Regions from separate parts of the Homo sapiens genome. Here region 2 is linked to region 1. Evidence: promoter capture Hi-C in 16 types of primary human blood cells and fetal thymus (Javierre and others, 2016). All regions are on one chromosome and are shown on one strand. The core of a region is centred on a gene start or on the middle of the fragment in contact, and the rest is flanking DNA. Distances in the headings are between cores, read along the strand shown.

Region 1 (5,120 bases), core at 1,039-3,538:
CTCACAGGTGCGGCTTGTTCTGGGCAGTCAGGTGCTTCAGGCTTCCCTGCCCCCCTGCCACCAGCCTCCTATTTAATTTCATTCTTGCAGCTGGCCCTTTTCTACTTTGTCGTGTTTAACTCCCTACCATTTATTTTTCTCCTCTCTCCCTGGAAGGCGAGCTCCCTGGTCATCGTGGGCCTTCCGTGTGTTTCTCATGCTGCGTCCTCAGAGCCTAGAGGCATGGAGTAGCTGCTCACTGAATCCTCACAGAATGAATGAATGATTGACCACACCCATCACATTAGGCCTTATGGGATTATTATCAAGAACGCCCTATTTAATGATGGGGACATGCTGCCCCACTTCCATCCCTGGGCCTTGGTGCACAGGCCAGAAAGTCCGAGACAGACCATCTGTCCTCCCTACAGGGGACCAACTTGCACAAACAAATGGGCATCAGCACCCACTGGGAGCAGCCGTGACCCCTGGGTCCTCGGTACCAGCCACAAAGCCAGTTCTGAGTTTGTTCAGAATCCTGCTTAGAATGAAGGATGCTCCTACACCAGAGATCTCTTAATACGACCACCAAACACCACGGGATTTTCAAAGGTAGCTGCCACAGCCGCCGCACACAAGCTCTGTTCCTGGCTTGCTTCTGCCATCTGCTGGCCAGTTGATAAAAGGCACCGGGGGTTATTTTCCAGTCTCTCTGAGGCTCTTGTTTTGTGGGAGGAACTCATCACCACCTTTATCTTCACAAGGGCTGCTTGGCAGACCTGTCCCATAAGTAGTGCAACTTGGGAAGATCCTAGGCCTCTTGTGGGTAGGGCAGTCATCCAGTCCTGCATCTTATGACTTCACACGTTACAAACGTTAACTTGCTAAACACTCAATGTGAAACCTAGGAGTAAGGGACAATTATCTTTACTATCTACAAACAAGGATGTTCAGGCACAGAGAGGCTCAGTACATTGTGCAAAGTCACACAGCTACAGAGTTGTGAAGCCGAGATTGGAACTCAAGCAATAAGGCACTTTGATGGCAGGCACCTTAATGGGGGGTGGGGGAACACCCTTTACCAACAACCATGCAAATGGCCCAGGTGCTCCTGTGACCCCTGATCCCAGGGGCTCCACCAGAGCACCAGAGAGAGAGGGATGTGGGAAGAGCAGAGGACAGAAGAGGACACGTGCATCTAACCACTCGGAGGACAGGAGAAGGCACCCTAACCTTCTGAGCTGCCATCTTCCAATCAGGAGGAGGGGAGCACTGGATACATAATCTCAAGGCTTTCCCTACAGTTCTCTCAACAGGACAGACAGGCAGGGGTGCACAGTGGTTAGAGCACAGGCTTTTTGGTCAGACAGAACTGGGTTAAAGATCAGACACGTCCACTCACTCTCAATGAGTCCATATCTGTAAGCCTAAGCTTCCGTCCTCACACATGTTGATAAAAGAAAAAGAAAAAAAAAGGCCAAGTGCAAAGCTTTTAGCATTGTTTCTGGTTCAGGGTATGGACTTAATACTGTTTTCTATCATTATAACCACACTAAAGGCTCTGAGAAGTCCTGCAGGAAGGAAAACTACTTGTCTTTATCTCAGCCATCCCCAAGCTAGCTGCCCACAGAGCCACCATGGAGCCCACAGCTCTGTCACCCCACAGGGCCCATGTGCCTGGCCCATTCATGTTCCCTCACACGGGAGCCTCAGGCCCCAGTGGAAACAGACTCAGGAGACAAACCCAGGCCTCCTGCTCCCAGCTCCCCACTCTGTCCTTCTGCTTCTACATCCAACTACCCCCAAAGCAGTTTCTACAATCCATAAACAAAAGAATTCAGAGACAATTCTCCAGGGCTCCCAAGACGACATATTTCATCTGTGGCTTCTACAGTGCTTATTTGTCAGTTTTACAGACCAGAGGCAATTAAGAGTCTAAGGCCGAGAAGGCTGTTTTTAATAATTCTGTCATTATTCTCAATTTTCAGCACCACCACACATGAAAAACCCATTTCCAATTCCCTTAAAGGTGTTAAATGGTTTTTGCACTGTGTTGCAAAAGTTTGCCGTCCGCCAAACTGCTACAAAGTGGGCTTGTAGCGTCCGGTCCTGAGCTGTGGGAACGACTTGGTCGGGGCTGATCCGCTGGAGCCCAGCTCTTTCCCCAAGCGTTCAATTCCCAGCACATGCCGCGTGGGTCACTGTGGATTTCAGGGTGGACTCACCGCGCTGCTGGGTGTTGCAGTCCACGCGATTTCACAAGACTCCATGCAGGACACCTCCACCCGGCCCAGGCTCAGGCAGGATATGAACAGGAAACCACTGTTTCCTGCCGATCAACACCCAGGAACTGATGAAGTAACCCAGTGCCCAGCCCCTCTGACAGCCACAGAGCCAAGAAGAGGGAAGTGAGGTGGCATCCAAGGCAGCCCCTGAAAGAACTAAGCAAGGCAAGTTCAAGGGGTTCAGGGCTCTGCAGCAGCTGATGGGGAGCAGGGAGGAGCATTCCGTTTTCAGGGCATTGAAAGTCCTTGAAAGGAGAAAATTTTATAAGGAATGACAAGGCCTGGATGCAGAAGGTGGGAGACCCCTGCCCTTGATAACCGTCATAGTTACCAATGACAACTATGATAAAGAGATGACTTTCTGTGGCTCCCACTTGCTGCCCTCTGTGGTTCCAGGCACATCACAGAGAACTCTTCATTTTCATGAGGCCCCATAAGGACATCCCTATTACTATGATCCTTATCAATATCCTGATGTTACAAATGAGGGAACCAGGACACAGAGACGCTGAGGAACTTGTCTGAAGTTACATGGTGGAGACATAGCCTGGGACGCAGCAGTGAGAGGGACAGACGAGCCCTGCCCCTGTGCACCAAGCCATCTGCTGGGGACGCAGAAATCAAACAGCTCGTGGCTGCCCTTGTGCCCAGCGCTGTGGGCATGAGCGAGCTGCTTTGAAGAGACAGCGTGGTGACCTGCCCTGCTGGCCCAGGCAGCATCACACGGCAAGAAGGCGGGCTTTGAAGGGTTTTAAACAGAGTCGTGTTCCCACGTCTGCAGTGAGAGGGCTGCAAGCCTTTGTGTTTTTCACACGGTGTTACACAGCGTTGGGGTCCACGGACCTGCCTCGGAAGCTGCTCATGGGCAAATGGACGACCACGGGTGGGGAAGGAAATTTCCCCCAAACACACACATGCTTCACCCAGAGCAGCCAAGCTGTTTGTGTGTTTGTGTGTATTCACGTGTGTATGTGTGTGTGTGTGTCTTATGCCTAATGGTTCATTGAGTTTAAGGATCTCTCAGCTCCCTTGCAGCACAAATGTTTCATAATTTGGTGGTTAGCGCGCAGTGACCAGGCAATACAGGTTCATCAAAATGCACCAATGAGACAGAGACAGGAGAGGATGTTTTGGCAGCAGACAGACATCCAGGAGGCCTAGCACACCCCCATCCCCCGGCCCCAACCTCAGAGAGATAATCAGGGGAGCAAAGGGCATTAGTATGAAACGACCAAAGAGACTTAGCGAGCAACGTCAGACTCCCTGCAACACGCGTGCTGATGGGACAGAGGGGGAGTTATTTTTATACTTCAGAAATAACCAAGCATTCTGCATGCCCAAAGCCAGTTTGGGTTTTAAATACCTTTCATAATTTTTCTGACTATGGAGGTAATACATCCTCAGGGCATAAAATTTAGAAATTATAGAAGAGTATTTTTAAAAATCCAACCATTGAGCAATAACCATTATAAAAATCTTACTGTTTTCCTTTCTTGTCATTTATCTAGGCTCATACAGATATTTGGGGCTTTTTTCACAAAACTAGGAAAATGTTAAAATATATATTCTAATATTGTCTCGATTTTATTATTAGATTTATCATAACCATAAAAGATTTGAACACTTTTAACGACAGCGTATTATTCCATTTCCATGGAATTACTGTAATGAATCTCCTACTGTTGGGTTTCAGTTGCTTCCAAATTTGAATGTAAATAATTTGGGGGCAGTTCTCACTCCATCAATGGCAGACTAGGTTGAATACAGCCGAGGTTTTGCAGGCACACACTATGCCCAAATTAAAGCCACAGCCCAGGATGTTGGCCATGGAGAGATGATGCTTTCAACTGTATCAACTCTTGAAGCTGGTGAACCATGGCTTCTCCCCTTCAGGCGCTGGCAGACCTTCTCCTCACACTCTTGGCTCTTTGCTGGGCTGACAACTCCCTACTTGCCCTGCAGGCCTTCCCTGAGCTCTGGGGTCTTCTTTCTGCCCCCTTCCATAGCTCCCCGTGGCTGCCACATCTCAGCACTGACATCCTACGTGGCTCTTTGTCCACACCTAGCTCCCTAGACCATGCACCCCTTGTGAGCTAGGTCTTTGTCTTCCACATGGAAGTTCTCACTAAACACTTGAATAAAGGAATGAATAAACAAATGAATGAACAAACAATCTAACAAAGAAGGAGCACATGGGCTGACCTTGCAGGGCTCTCACGCCAAATCCTGGAGGCGCCTTCTGCAGCCGTTTCTGTCTCCCAGCCAGTCCACCTGTTGCTCGGGCTGCTACTCAGAAGTGGCGCGTACAGGAAGCACGTGCTTGTTTGTGCTGGCCCCATGTTTGTTTGCATTTAGGATCACGGAGTTTACTCAATTAATAAATAGAGTGGAGAGGGGGTACTGCCTCTGTTTGGCAGACAAAACAAACAGAGGAGAGGGGAAGATGTCCAGGGCAGATTTCTCCCGCTTTCAATCTTAAATAAATAACCAGTTTCCCGATGCTAATTTTTCCTCTTTATGATCTTGTCTATCTGTGCACAGACGATGAGGTCTGATCCCTTGTGGTCCCAAATGCCACGTGGCAGTGAGCTTCCAGGCCACGTCCCTATTGCGCCAGAAGAGCCCATGTGTGTCTTTGTGAGCATGTTCATAGTTAACCTTGTTGATCATTACATGAACGTGTTTAATCCTTACCACAAGCCTGGGAGATAGGAACTCTTACTGTCCAAATTGCACAGATGGGCAAGCCGAGACACAGAGAGGTAATGTAACTTGCTCAAGACCACACAGCCAGCAATGGCAGAGCCTGGATTTTAATCCTGACAATCTAACTTCAAAACCTATACCTGTGATCAC
Region 2 (5,231 bases), core at 1,958-4,457, 52 kb after region 1:
CCAGAAGTTATCACTGCTGTCCTAGAAAGTTCTAAATAACCAGCCCCTCCGTTTGCATCAACCTGCTGCTTAATTTGCATGTAATTGAAAGTGGGTTTTAGTGGGTATAAATACAGTTGCCAACAGCCCATACATTTCTGACTCTGAGTGTACTGCCTATGAGTTAGCCCTGCCTTGCAAGGAGCAGTAATGTTGAATAGAAGACTGCTGTCTAACACCTCCACCTCACCTTTGAATTATTTCCCAAAACCCTCCTGGGCTAATCCCCAGTTTTGGGGCTTGCCTGTGCTGTGTCAATTCTGTCTTCAGTTGGGTTCTGCAAAGCAGCACTGGATGGAGGATTTCCATGAAAGTGATTGCTATGGACTTAATTGTGTTCCCTCTCCAAATCCATATGTTCAGGCCCTAACCCCAATGTGATGGCATTTGAAGACGGAGCCTTTGGGAGACAATTAGGTTTAGATGAGCTCATGAGGGTAGAGTCCTCATGATGGAATTAGTTCCCTAATAAGAAGAGATACCAGGGAGCTTGGTATCTCTCTCTCCATCCCATGTGAGGACACGGCGGGAAAGTGGCCATCTGCCAGCTAGCAAGAGAGCTCTCACCAGAACCCAACCATGCTGGAACCCTGACCTTGGACTTCTAGCCTGCAGAAACATGAGGCAATATATTTCTGTTATTTAAGCCACCAGTCAGGCTATGGTATTTTATTATGGCAGCCTTAGCTGACTAATGCAGTGATTTAGGAGGAAGTGTCCCCAAATCAAGCCTGGAGCACAGTGGGGATGCAAAACCCATAGCTAGTGCACAGCACAAGGGGAGCTCTCCCTACCTGATTCAATGTCTCTGCCATCCTTCCTTCCACCGGAGCCAGGAGTTGTCTGTGCATTGTGGCATCTGGGTAAGCCTGCAAGCAAACCAGTAGAGCTTCATACCACAGCAGAGCCCTTGTCCTACCCCCCAACCCCTGTGTGTCAGTGGCCCCAGCATAGATGGGGCACACTGAGCACCGTTCTCTTGGAGGTGAAGAGCCAGGCCCAGGGTAGTTTGCTCACGTTTCCTCTCTTTGTGTTGGGGGAGAGAGGGAGGCCCTGCAAGCTCTCATGGCTAGACTTTCCAATGCCTGGGCTGAAACAAACTTTCAGTGAGGAAGGAACCCAAGTGAGCCCGGCCAGGAGGGTTGTTCCTGCTGACACCCTCACTCATGCCTTGCACCCCCTCAACTACACTGCCCCTCCTCGCTCATTTTGGCTTCTCTTCCTCTGAACCTGCCCATTGTTTCCCATGATGGGCTGCTGGCAGTCTCCTGCTCATCTGGCCCATGTCTGTGGATCTGGGTCTCTGTGCTATCTAAGGGCAGAGGATACAGTGGTAGGAAACAGGCTTGGCATCTACTGGAAGGAGTGGCTATCTGGGGGCTCACAAATCCCACCACTAAATCATGTGAGTCAGGCTGGCCTGGAGGCAAGCAAAGCACCTGGGGCCTCACTGTCGAGCTCACGCAGGTGCAAGGCAAGCACCCAAGAGTGGCGGTAAATGTAAGACTGATCACCAAGGGAAGGTTTAAGAGGGGATCTCACCCAGTTGAGAGCAGGGAGTTCTCAGGAGGAGGAAGTTGTAGGGCCATGGAACAGAAGGGAATTCCAATGAGAAGAAACAGCACAGGCCCTAAGCAGGGAGGGAACTTGGCGTGTTCTGTGGCTGGAGCCCAAAGAGGTGGGGTGCTGGGATGGTTAGGGAGGTGGGGGGAGGCTCAGAGCAAGTTGAAGCCATACGTGAGCAAAGGCCATGTGATAGAGGGTCTCACAGGACATTAAAGACATAGGTCTGTCTTAGGCTGGGTTCTGCAAAGCAGCCCTGGAGGGAGGATCCCCTTAAGGTCATAAGGTTGTAGACTTTATCCCAGGTGCAATGGCAAGCCAACAGGAAGTCTTAAATTGGAGAGTGACATACAATTTGTGTTTTTAATCACTGGTGGCCTTTATGGCTGAGATGACTTCTGATCTTACCTGGGTTTAGGGATACTTATTGGGTTCCAGAAGACATATGTAAAATATGATAAAGCCTGGGGCAATTATGTATGTCCATGAGGCTATATATACACATACATACATACATACATACATACATACATACATACAGATATATACACATGCACATATACAGACAAACATACACATGTTCATATATGCATACTCATGCCTCTGTACATGTACATGCTTCTATACATATACATATAGACATATAGACATATACATATACAGTTGACCCTTGAACAATGTGGGGGTTAGGGGTGCTGACCCTGCACAGTTGAAAACATGCCTATAACTTTTGATTCCCCGAAAACTCAACTAACAGTCTACTGTTGACTGGAAGCTTTTCCAATAATATAAACAGTCAATTAATGCACATTTTGTATGTCATATGTATTATATACTATATTATAACAAAGTAAGCTAGAAGAAAGAAAATGTCATTAAGGAAAATATATTCACTATTCATTAAGTAGAAGTGGATTATCATAAAGGTCTTCATCTTCATTGTCTTCTCTCTGAGTAGAATGAAGAGGAGGAGGGAGAAGAAGGGTTGGTCTTGCTGTCTCGGGGGTGGCAGAGGCAGAAGAAAACCCACATATAAGTGCACCCACACAGTTCAAACTCCTATTGTTCAAGGGTCAACTGAATACACATATCTATCTATATACACATGCATACATACAGTTATGCACGGCATAACATTTCAATGACAGGCCGTATATATAAAGCTGGTCCCATAAGACTGTAATGCTGTATTTTTACTGTACCTTTTCTATGTGTAGGTGTTTTTTTCTTTTCTTTTTTTTTTTTTTTTTTTTGAGATGGAGTCTCGCTCTGTCACCCAGGCTGGAGTGCAGTGGCGCGATCTTGGCTCACTGCAAGCGCCGCCTCCCAGGTTCATGCCATTCTCCTGCCTCAGCCTCCCAAGTAGCTGGGGCTACAGGCGCCCGCCACCACGTCCAGTTAATTTTTTGTATTTTTAGTAAAGACAGGGTTTCACCATGTTAGCCAGGATGGTCTCTATCTCCTGATCTCGTGATACGCCTGCCTCGGCCTCCCAAAGTGCTGGGATTACAGACGTGAGCCACGGCGCCCTGGCCTGTGTAGGTAGATACACAAACACCATTGTGTTCCAATTGCCTACAGTATTCAGTACAGTCACATGCTGTACGGGTTTGTAGCCTAGAAGCAACAGGCTACACCAAGAGGTCTAGGTGTGTAGTAGGCTACACCATTTAGGTTTGTGTAAAACACTTTATGAAGTTTACACAGTGATGAAATCACCTAACAACACATTTCTCAGAACGTATCCCCATCATTAAGCCAGACATGACTGTACATATACACATGTGTGTACACATAGTGAAGCCACATCATACCAAGGTAAGCTGAACCAAACATACTAAGCCAAAGAGGCAAGGTGTGGACCACTACAAGCAGCCCTAGGGACCCTGCTGCCTGGTTCCCAGTGCTGGGAGCACTTGACTGGAGATGCTGTGCCCTCAGTCTGTTTAGCCCCAGGGGCCTCTCAGAGGAGGACCCTTAAGATGTGGGCTATGTACAAAGTACCCTTGCACCAGATGCTCACTGACCAAGCATGGGGCTCATCCAGGACCAGAGGAAGACGCCGTGTCAGTTTCCAGCCTGGCTCCTTCCCGAGGTAGACTTGGGGTGATTTTGCCTCAAGCCAGCTTCAGGTCCTAACCCCACACTATGTATGGCTGCACTGTGGCTGAGAGAGCACTATCTCTCCTCTCTGGGCTTCTGTGGACTTAGCCACTGGTTTAACTCTATCCCCAGGGCCTACGACTCCTCAAAGATACTTCAGCTAGAGTATTTGAAATTTATTTTCATTATTTACAAATTATTTCAATAACAATATTGAATATTATTTTTATAATATAACAGAAAGTGGTTTACATCTTTTTTAGTCTCCCACACCAACATGTAAATTTGGGATGCCATGTTAATTAGCTTTTATGCAACTCAAATGAAGCTTTTGGTCCCATGTTTCATTAATCAAAGAGAATCCTAACATTGTAAACTGAGCTATTCAAAAACCATTAAGATTTGAAACTGCTTGTTGGTATATATCAAAATTTTCTTGATACTTTAAAAACCAGTTTATAATAATGCGAGGCAATGAATTAGGTGTTAAGTTAACATAATTTTGCAAACTATATCCACAACATTCAACTTCCTTCTGTTTACATCAGAATCATTATTTTTATTGGCTATTTTGGTAATAGGTATATGTCATTAATGTCAATGCATACAAAATTAGTACTTAGATGTTTTATTTACAATGGAGTTATTTGTAGGATCTCATTTGAAAAGAAGAATTCTGGTGCAAAACATATTTAGAAAAAAAAATTGACTAGATGATGTCTAAGACCCCCTTAGCTCAAAATTTCTATAGGTCTGTGACAAAGCACAGCAGAAAACTCAGCCTATGACTGAGGTCTTAGCAACTCAACAGCAAAAGAAATTTGCCAGGGACTGAAAAGCTCTTATGCCCTCGAGTCACGGGATAAATGTGCCTTAACTACTTCCAACCTCTCTTCACGTTCGCTTCTCCTTCAGTTTGCTTGGATGTTGGGCATATTTTTTTTTATCACCTCTTTCCTTCCAAATTTCCAATTTTCAGGGATTTGCACAGCTTTTAGGCAGAACAATAAGGTAAATTTGTTCACGGTAACACCTACATCTATACTTACAGGAGTAGAGTGTATGTTTTTCACACTTCTTGGCTCAAAGGGCTTGCCATAACCCTTAAAGAAAGATGAAATATTTACTGATTTCAAATAAATTACCAAAGGATGCAAATACATAACTAGAAATTCTTGCAGTCATATTGCCTTTCATTTTTGTACTAAAGGTATAGTAATTCTAAAGAGTGTAGATATTCATAGCAGAAATTCATGAACAAGTTTCACAGTTGCTTTGTGAAGAAGGAACATGAGAATATTAGATTTGCAAGCTCTATCTTGGGTCCATTAACACCCAGTAAGATTTCCTTTTGCCATGGCCATGCCCTGAATACAAACAAATGACACACATCCACTCCTAGGACCCAGGCCTAGCGGCACAACTCTCAGGGCTCAGTGCAAGATGAAAGTTGGGGGCCCTTTGTTCAAAAATTAAGAATTTCAAGATGGTGACAGTAGAATATTAAACCAAGCAGAGGTTCTTTA

The links. Contacts are between HindIII fragments. The CHiCAGO score rates a contact against its expected background, and 5 or more counts as called.
Region 2: a fragment that was not itself captured here is called in contact with the fragment with the promoter of LINC02910 in region 1 in 1 of 17 cell types (neutrophils); the score reaches 5.2 in neutrophils.

What each region holds. Positions count from the first base shown.
Region 1 is chr20:60,053,093-60,058,212 of GRCh38, reverse strand. LINC02910 (long intergenic non-protein coding RNA 2910) reads right to left here and starts at 2,288. Exons shown (of 4, transcript NR_161293.1): 1 at 2,205-2,288. RefSeq lists enhancers at 1-265, 361-540, 551-600. The HindIII fragment of the contact is 13,245 bases long and covers 1,471-5,120 here.
Region 2 is chr20:60,002,390-60,007,620 of GRCh38, reverse strand. It overlaps CDH26 (cadherin 26), which reads right to left. Exons shown (of 18, transcript NM_177980.4): 16 at 4,755-4,808; 17 at 834-908. Among named protein-coding and RNA genes, the nearest start is that of CDH26, 47 kb to the right of the region's middle. The HindIII fragment of the contact is 1,656 bases long and covers 2,380-4,035 here.